Regions from separate parts of the Homo sapiens genome. Here all the other regions are linked to region 1. Evidence: promoter capture Hi-C in human tissues and cell types (Jung and others, 2019). All regions are on one chromosome and are shown on one strand. Each heading gives the region's core, a stretch centred on a gene start or on the middle of the fragment in contact. The rest is flanking DNA. Distances are from core to core; before and after follow the strand shown. Region 1 holds the start of RUNX2 (RUNX family transcription factor 2). Region 2 overlaps SUPT3H (SPT3 homolog, SAGA and STAGA complex component). Region 3 overlaps SUPT3H (SPT3 homolog, SAGA and STAGA complex component).

The links. The method cuts DNA at HindIII sites, captures the fragments that hold promoters and counts their contacts. A contact is called where the count stands out against the background at its distance.
Region 2: a contact is called between a fragment that was not itself captured here and the fragment with the promoter of RUNX2 in region 1, in 1 of the 25 tissues and cell types used here (lymphoblastoid cells).
Region 3: a contact is called between a fragment that was not itself captured here and the fragment with the promoter of RUNX2 in region 1, in 1 of the 25 tissues and cell types used here (mesenchymal stem cells).

Annotation. Positions count from the first base shown.
Region 1 is chr6:45,327,014-45,329,922 of GRCh38, reverse strand. It overlaps RUNX2 (RUNX family transcription factor 2), which reads right to left and starts at 1,593. Exons shown (of 9, transcript NM_001024630.4): 1 at 1,463-1,593; 2 at 1,139-1,262. The coding sequence starts at 1,196. The region is part of intron 2 of SUPT3H (SPT3 homolog, SAGA and STAGA complex component); the gene reads left to right. RefSeq lists an enhancer at 1,824-1,864, a promoter at 1,271-1,911 and a cis regulatory region at 2,869-2,875. The HindIII fragment of the contact is 4,056 bases long and covers 1-2,909 here.
Region 2 is chr6:45,118,297-45,121,247 of GRCh38, reverse strand. All of the region lies in intron 2 of SUPT3H (SPT3 homolog, SAGA and STAGA complex component), which reads left to right. Among named protein-coding and RNA genes, the nearest start is that of MIR586, 78 kb to the left of the region's middle. The HindIII fragment of the contact is 4,688 bases long and covers 1-2,951 here.
Region 3 is chr6:45,079,538-45,082,370 of GRCh38, reverse strand. The region is part of intron 3 of SUPT3H (SPT3 homolog, SAGA and STAGA complex component); the gene reads left to right. Among named protein-coding and RNA genes, the nearest start is that of MIR586, 120 kb to the left of the region's middle. The HindIII fragment of the contact is 4,235 bases long and covers 1-2,833 here.

The DNA of each region.
Region 1 (2,909 bases), core at 344-2,843:
GCAAGAAGGTTTATTTTAATGGATATAAGAAAAATTTTTGAAAACTTGCCTTGTAGTTGGAACATGTTGGAGATCATAAAGAGAATCTTGTAAGTGTGTTTAGATATTTTGCTATAATAACACATCAGCTGATGAATGTTAAAGTCATTTACATATCTGTATCAACAGTAACTTGAAATTAAATATTAAGGGACAAGATTATGCCTACTTCTTTTAAAGTCCAGCATGGTTTAATAGTTGTGGCTTTTAAAAATCATACAGGGTATCCTTATGGAGCTTTATTTTTCATGAGACTAAACAGCAGTTATTCATTTTGGTAGGTCCAAGAATGTGATTAAAAGAATCTTAGACGTTTCAGTGTTTCAGTGTGTTTATAACAAGGTCTATGGATAACAGTGTGTAGATGTAAAATTAAAATTACATAGAAAAATGCAGTTGCATGTAAGTTTTAAAATACTTCCATGAACTTTTTAATATCCTGGGCAACTATAAAGATCTTTTAAAAATGGCTGTGATGTGCTTATCATAATTTTATTTCAGCTGAATGTATACTTATATAAAGTTGTTTAGAAACAAACTTATTTAGATAGGATACAGTTTGAATTTATAAGTAGATTTCTTTTAGTTGAGCTGGTTAAAATGTTAACTGTACTACAGGTTTATTTCTGTGTTATACATGGTAGACCATAATGTTGAGATAATTCTGTGGTCTGTTATTTTGTAAAATTGCTTCCTTTTTGAAGTTTGCTCAAATATTGGGAGCTGCCGGAGTCAATAATTTATAATGCTTTGATTAATTTAGGATCTGACTTTTCTTCTGGTGAGGGTTAATGAGAGTATTAAACTGTTTCTTTTACTGTTTTCATATCCTCACCTCTATAACTCTAGAAAACATTTTGATCAATGTGAGATAATTTAATTTTGTATATTTCAAGTCATTACTTTGAAAATTAGATACATTACAGATACCAAATGCAAATATATACAGAAATTTCATTTTTCAATTCTTAATGCAACAAGATAGCATAATTAGGATCTTTAATATGCTATTTGGAAAAGCTAGCAGTTTATCAAAGAATCATACCTTTATGTTTAACAGGTTCATATCTTACAGGATTTTAAAAATGGTAACACTTACCCCAAAAGAAGTTTTGCTGACATGGTGTCACTGTGCTGAAGAGGCTGTTTGATGCCATAGTCCCTCCTTTTTTTTTCAGATAGAACTTGTACCCTCTGTTGTAAATACTGCTTGCAGCCTTAAACTGAAAATACAAACCATACCCAAACCTTGTTTTAGTTTTACAGTATGCCTGGAGTACATAGACTTTATATTTATTTTTTTCTGTCAAGAAATTATGTAGCTGGTAACATGTGAAAAGCAAAGAAACAAAACAAAAAGAGAATGAGCAAATATTTGAAGGACCTACTATTACTGCATAGACTGTGGTTAGAGAGCACTCACTGACTCTGTTGGTCTCGGTGGCTGGTAGTGACCTGCGGAGATTAACCATTTAAAAACCAGAGACTTCTTGCTGTCCTCCTGGAGAAAGTTTGCACCGCACTTGTGGTTCTGTGGTTGTTTGTGAGGCGAATGAAGCATTCACACAATCCAAAAAAGCAAAAGCTTTAAAACTCCTTTTTTTTGCAAGCACTATTACTGGAGAGGCAGAATCATGTGGTTTGTGACCTCACAGTACTCTTAAGTAAAGTGGGACTGCCTACCACTGTGGCTTTTCCCCCTTGCTCTTTCTCTCTCTCTCTTTCTCTCACAAAAGGCTTGTGGTAAGGCCTTTCCTGGCATCCAGAAGGATATAGCTTTTTAATTTTTGTGACTCATGAGGATTTGGATAGAATACAAATGCTGAAGGAGCCCAAACTCCTGTAAGGTTAAGCATTTGTAGAGCAGAGCTCTGCAGTTAAGGGCTTTCCTTTCTACTCCCCGCTCAACCTCTGCCTTTTTGCCTCCTCTTTTTAGTTCATTATTGTGTCTGTGGAAAAATGAACAAAATTGGCTCAAGAGTCTGTGTGAAATTCTGAACAACAGTGATGATATACAATAATTCACATCTTTGGACTGTATCACATTCTGGGGTCTGCTTCATATTTGCTGGGTGGCTGGATTCCTTCTGTTTTCCTTTTTCTTGTCTTCTTAAACTTGTGAATCTGTAACTCATTGTAAAAAAAAAAAAAGTTTACCTTAAGGTCTGGTTGCAAACTGCTTGCTAGGCTTGACTATAATTGGCTGTCATGAAAGTGTTAGTCTGGGCATTCTTTTACAAATTTTAAATCACGTCTGTCTAGTTTATTATCAATCTATTAGATGGCGGCCTTTACAATAAAGATTAAATGTAATGTTTCATGTATACCATTATCTCATGCCTAGTTTGAAGATCTTAAAAAAATGAATGACAGGGATTGTAATATAGTTTATTGGATGAATCTTAGTTTTCTTTATGATTGTAATATTTTTTGTCTTTCATTGAAGTGTATTCAGTTTATATAGTTCTTTAAGTAGTTTAGACATTAATAGAGTTTCTGATAGCAGATCTTCTATAAAGTAAAATGCTTATGTTATAATGTAGATTGTTCAGTATTTGATTCTATGAGCTTAGAATAGAGTGGGTTAACAGAAGCTATGTATTTTTTTGTTTCTAATGGAAGCTTTGAAATAAATTACAAAATGCTGTGTGTAGTAAGGAATAATGCCCACAGACAGAGTATGTTAGTCGTCTCGATTTGCTAATTCTGATTCAGAAGAAAATTGGAAACATCTTTGGGAAACTATCTCCTTTTTTGCCCCTTTGGACAAGTATGTATAGAACTCATTTTCTTATTAGGATGATTATATATCATAGGCAGTGAATTTTATATTTATGAATAGAGCTTCCTGTTTTCATCAGTTGGGAGCG
Region 2 (2,951 bases), core at 216-2,715, 210 kb after region 1:
TTCACCATAAGAGAAGCTCTAATTTTTACTCCTATAGGATCTAGAGGTTATGGAAATCAGAGATCCTGGTTGTGGAGAGTTTCTGGGCCAAGATTTTTGTGGAATTTTTCTGTTTATCAAACTCTCTGGAAACAGTATATGAATGGTATTGGTGTCTTTATGCTGCAAGGAATATTTCCCTCTGAATATAATAATAATTACATACCTAGATAATCAACCTGTTCCAAAGTATCAATTTTAATCTCTGTGTAATATTTGTATTATAATCTATTAATAGTATGATGAAGTTAACCTATACTTATTATTGTTCTAATATTATTGTTCTAATATTGTTCAAATTTTAGCCTTGGGAAATTTTTGCATTGTTTAGTACAATTATTCCTGAACTTTATCTCAGAACCTGAGAAATTTCTATGTGATTTATGCATAAAGACACTATGGAGTTCCCCAGGTTTGTAGCTTTAATATTTACCCTTAATTCTTGAAACCTAAAAGCAAGATAAATTTCATGTGGCAAACAGCTATTTGCATGAATAGAGGAAGCCAGTTATTTGCTTTTGACTTGGAAGAATTTGTTCAGCCTTTTAATAGATTCCTTTTTTTGGTTATTGATATAGACATCATTTGTTGTTCAACTTCTTTAGTTTTCCTCTTAATCTTCTGAATTCAACTATTGTGGCATTTATATATTGGTTTGCATTTCTGCATGTACCACACTGGTTGTCAAAAAGTTATTTCCAATTTTATCAAAGTATCATCATCATCCTACTCCAGTCACCCTAACTTGGATATATGCTTATATAGTCTTTTTTTTTTTTTTTTTTTTTTTTAGACAAGGTCTCACACTGTTACCCAGACTGGATTTAAACTCTTGTGCTCAAGTGACCCTCCCTCCTCGACCTCCCAAAATCCTGGGATTATAAACAGAAGCCACCATGCCTAGCCTATATAGTCTTTTCACTTTTAAAATTTTCTTTATTGTGGTGGAAACTGAAATAAATTACTTCCGAAGTCTCTTCAGTTTCTATGAAAGACAATATTATAGAGCAGTTAGAGGGTTTTTGTTTGTTTGTTTTTTGTTTTTTTTAGTTTGCAGTCAGACTGATGGGATTTGGAATCTCGTTTCTGCCACTTATTAACTATGTTACTTGGGTAATTTAGTTAACCTCTTCAAGTCTTGAAGTAGCAATAGTAATAGTACTTACCTTTTAGAGTCATTTTGACATTTGAATCAGTTCAGTGGTGTCTAGCAAACAGTAAATCCTCAGTATGTATTATGGATATAATCGACTCATTGTCATTTTGTCATAACTATCATTATTAAACAGATTCTAAATTGTATATATTTTCAGACTCATTTTTTTCCTTTTCTTTTTTAAAAGTATTTGCTGCCTTTAAAAAAAATAAATCATTAATCTGGTTCCTTTTTGAATATTTTTTACTTGGCCCCAAATGCATACCAAGTTTAATGAAATTTCAAACATTTTTCCTTCTACATGTGAAAATCTTAAGTTTTCTAGGAATACACCCTTTGATTCTCTGCCCTGGCATCTTTTACTGCATAACCTAATTCCACTCTTTATTTGGTCCAAAGTGCTGCAATTATTGACTCTTTCCTGTTAACATTATGCCCACAAATCACATGAATTTGTGGCCATCTGTGCTCATCCAACAGGCAGCTATATACATATAATAAGCATATATTAAAGCCTATATGCTTAAGGTTTTAATCTGCTCTAACAGTATCTAGTTTGTGTGCCCACTGAACTTTCACAACATAGGGAAGGCTCCTTGTGGTCTGAGATAATAGTGGAATCAGTTGGGAGGTGAATCCGTCCTCATACCTTCTCTTCCCTAGACATACATTGAGTGCCCACATACAACTGGCATCTTCTTAGGTGCTCAGAATACAAATTTAAATAACAGGTGATTATTTTCCTCTAAATGCATAGGGGAGAATAGAGACAAATTAGTTCATGTAAAAGTATGACTATGTAACTACATAACTATACAACTATGTAACTATACTATGAGGAGGTTGTGAAGAGTGCTATGGAAGCATCTAGGAGTGGGATTTGTTATTTATTGCCACAATAATGCTGCATAACAAAACATTGTGAAACCTCAGCATTTATGATTATATGTCTATGACAGTAGATTAGACAACCCCACCAATCTCAGCTGTGCTCTGTTATCTATCTGAGGGTCAGCTGACTGCCAGCTGATCTATGATAACTCAACTACGATAACTGGGGTGACTGAGCTCTGCTTCATGTATCTCTAATTTTCCAGCAGATTAGCCTTGTCATACTTTCATGGCAGTGGCAGAGTGCAAGAGTGCAAGTTGAAATGCTTAAGCACTTCTTAGCCTCTGCTGCTAATAATATCCCATTGGCCAAAGAACATAACAGGGTTGAGCTCAGGGTTATAGTGCAGGGCTACTTAAAGTTACTTGGCAATGGGAATGAATATAATATGAGGTGAAAGGTGAGTTAGGGCAATCAGTGCAATATGCCTTAGAGCAGCAAATGAGTATTATGGAAAATTTCCCAAGGGTCGTACCCCTCGAACTAAGTTTGGAAGGCATTGGCTGAATGGAAGAAGAAACAAAGACTTATTTGACAGAGAAAATATCATGTACAAAAGTGAGAAGACCTGAAACCTATTGTGTGGTCAGCTGTCCATAGGGAGTTTGATATTTTAGGAACAAATGGTGCATGGCTAGAAATAAGGGTGGAACCAGAGAGAAGCCAGATGTCAAAGACTTTTATATAATAAACAGAGGAGTTTGAAAGTTGTAGGATTCTGTGAAGGCTCTAAGCTAGGGTCTTAATTACTGTTTTATTGATATTAACTATTATAAATAATTAATTGCCTGGTATTGCCTATTAATATTTTTATTTGCTACCACAGAGCTTGTACCTATGAAGATCTTAATCGTGTACAGGGTG
Region 3 (2,833 bases), core at 85-2,584, 250 kb after region 1:
GAGATATTGGCCTGAAGTTTTCTTTTTGTTGTTGTTGTTGTGTCTTTGCCAGCTTTTGGCATCAGAGTGATGCTAGTTTCATAGAATGAGTTAGGGAGGAGTCCCTCTTCCTCATTTTTTTGGAATAGTTTCAGTAGAATTGATATCAACTCTTTGTATGTCTGGTAGAGTTCAGCTGTTAATCTGTCTGGTCTGGGGCTTTTTCTGGTTGGTAGGCTTTTTATTACTGATTTAATTCTGGAACTCAGTATTGGTCTGTTCAGAGTTTCAATTTCTTCCTGATTTAATATTGGGAGGTTATGTATTTCCAGGAATTTATCCATTTCCTCTAGATTTTCTAGTTTGTGTAAAATGCCATAGATGTGGCACTTTCTTTATTTGCAAGTTGATTGGCTTTATTTAAATTGCTTATTTTATTTAGAAGCCCAAATGAAATAAAACTAATGCATTGCATTTTCATGTAACTGAGTGAAAGTTCACTTGATTTTTTCCCCCTATTTTTTCCAGGCTCAAAAATTGGCTGAAATTGCTGAGCAGGCAGTTCTTTTAGAATTGTTTCTGTCAATATTTTATCAGGCCCAAGAGTAAAATATTCTGCAGCTACTGCAGTGTTTTTATTGCCACTCTTAAGGTAGAACCCTGTTAAATGGTGTATAAGTATGTGGATTCAGATATGATAGAAAATCCTGTTTCCACAATTATAGTGTATATATAAGACGTAGAGTTAGATTGGATGGTGATTTCTAGCCACAGAGGAGCTCTATCATTCATTCACTCATCAAAGACTTATTGATAAATGTGGCAACCATTGTTTTAGGTACTGGGGATATAATGGTATATACAAGAAAGTCTCTTCTCTAATGGAGCTTATATTTTGGTATGCAAGAAGGACAATAAGTAAATGAATAAATAGTATCACATAGTGTTAACTACTATGAAGGAAATAATCTAGGACAAGGACTGGGAGTAATAATGTTAGATTACCTCAGAGAAGATGATACATGAGCAAAGAATTAAATAATGTGAAGGAGAATACCATGTATTAACAGGGAGTATAAAGGTACTGAGATTGGAATGTACTCCAGAAACAGAAATATCAGTATTTCTGGAGTGAAGTGAGTTAAGGATCAAATGGGACGAGCTGAAATGTAAAAGTAAGATAGGGACCAGATTATGTAGGCATTGTTTTTCTCTCTGTCAATTTCACTCTCTTTGGCTTTGTTCAGGAGAGAAGGTTTTGTTTATTTATTCATTTAATTTCTTAATTTTTAAATTCTTGTGGATACATAGTTGTATATATATATGTACATATATACGTATATATGTACATATATATATGGGATATATGAGATTTTCTGATACAGGCATAAAATGGATAGTAATTTTATCAGGGTAAATGAGGCATCCATCACCTCAAGCATTTGTGCTTTCTACTGCAATCCATTTATACTCTTAGTTATTTTTACAGCTATAGTTAAATTATTATTGATTGTAGTCACTCTGTTCTGCTGTCACATACTAGACCTTATTTATTCTTTCTGTTTTTTGTACCCATTAACCATCCCCACTTTACCTCCACTTCTTCATTTCCCTTCTCAGCCTCTGGTAACCATCTGTCTACTCTCTGTGTCCATGAGTTCAATTGTTTTAATTTTTAGCCTCCATAAATAAGTGAGAACAAGTGAAGTCGGTTTTTGTGTGCCTGGCTTATTTCACTTAATGACCTCCAGTTCCATCTATGTTGTTGCAAATAACAGAATCTTTTTTTTTTAATGGCTGAATAGTACTTCATTGCGTATATGCCACATTTTCTTTATTCATTCTTCTGTTGATGGACACTTATGTTGCTTCCAAATCTTTACTATTGTGACTAGTAAACACGGGAATGCAGATATCTTTTCAATATATTGATTTCCTTTTTTCTGGGATATACCTAGCAGAGGTATATCTGGATCATATGGTAGCTCTGTTTTTAGATTTCTGAGGAACCTCCAAACTGTTCTGCGTAGTGATTGTACTAATTTACATTCAAACCAACATGTATGAGAGTTCCCTTTCCTCCACATTCTCACCAATATTTGTTATTGCCTTTTGGATAAAAGCCATTTTAACTGGGGTGAGATACTACCTCATTTTAGTTTTGATTTGCATTTCTCTGACGATCAGTTGTAAAGCACTTTTTCATATACTTGTGTACTGTTTGTCTTCTTTTGAGAAATGTCTCTTCAGATCTTTTGCCCATGTTTTAATCAGATTATTAGATTTTTTCCTATTGAATTGTTTGAGCTCCTTATATATTCTGGTTATTGAACCCTTGTGAGATGGATAGTTTACAAATATTTTCTCCCATTTTGTGGGTTGTCTCTTACTTTGTTGATTGTTTCCTTTGCTGTGCAGAAGCTTTGCAATTTGATGTAATCTCATTTGTTCATTTTTACTTTGATTGCCTATGCTGGTGGGGTATTACTCAAGAAATCTTTGTCCAGTCCAATGCCCTATAGAGTATTCCTAGTGAGTTCTATGAATAGTTTCATAGTTTGAGGTCTTAGATTTAAGTCTTTAATCCATTTTGACTTGACTTCTGTACATGGCAAGAGATGTGGGTCTAGTTTCATTCTTCTGCATATGGATATCCAATTTTCCCAGAACTGTTTATTGAAGAGACTGTCCTTTGCCCAATGTATGTTCTTGGCATCTTTCTCGAAAGTGAGTTCACTGTAGATGTATGTATTTGTTCTGGGTTCTCTTTTCTGTTCCACTGTTCTGTGTATCTGTTTTGATGCCAACACCATACAGTTTTGGTTACTATAGCCCAGTAATATTATTTGAAGTG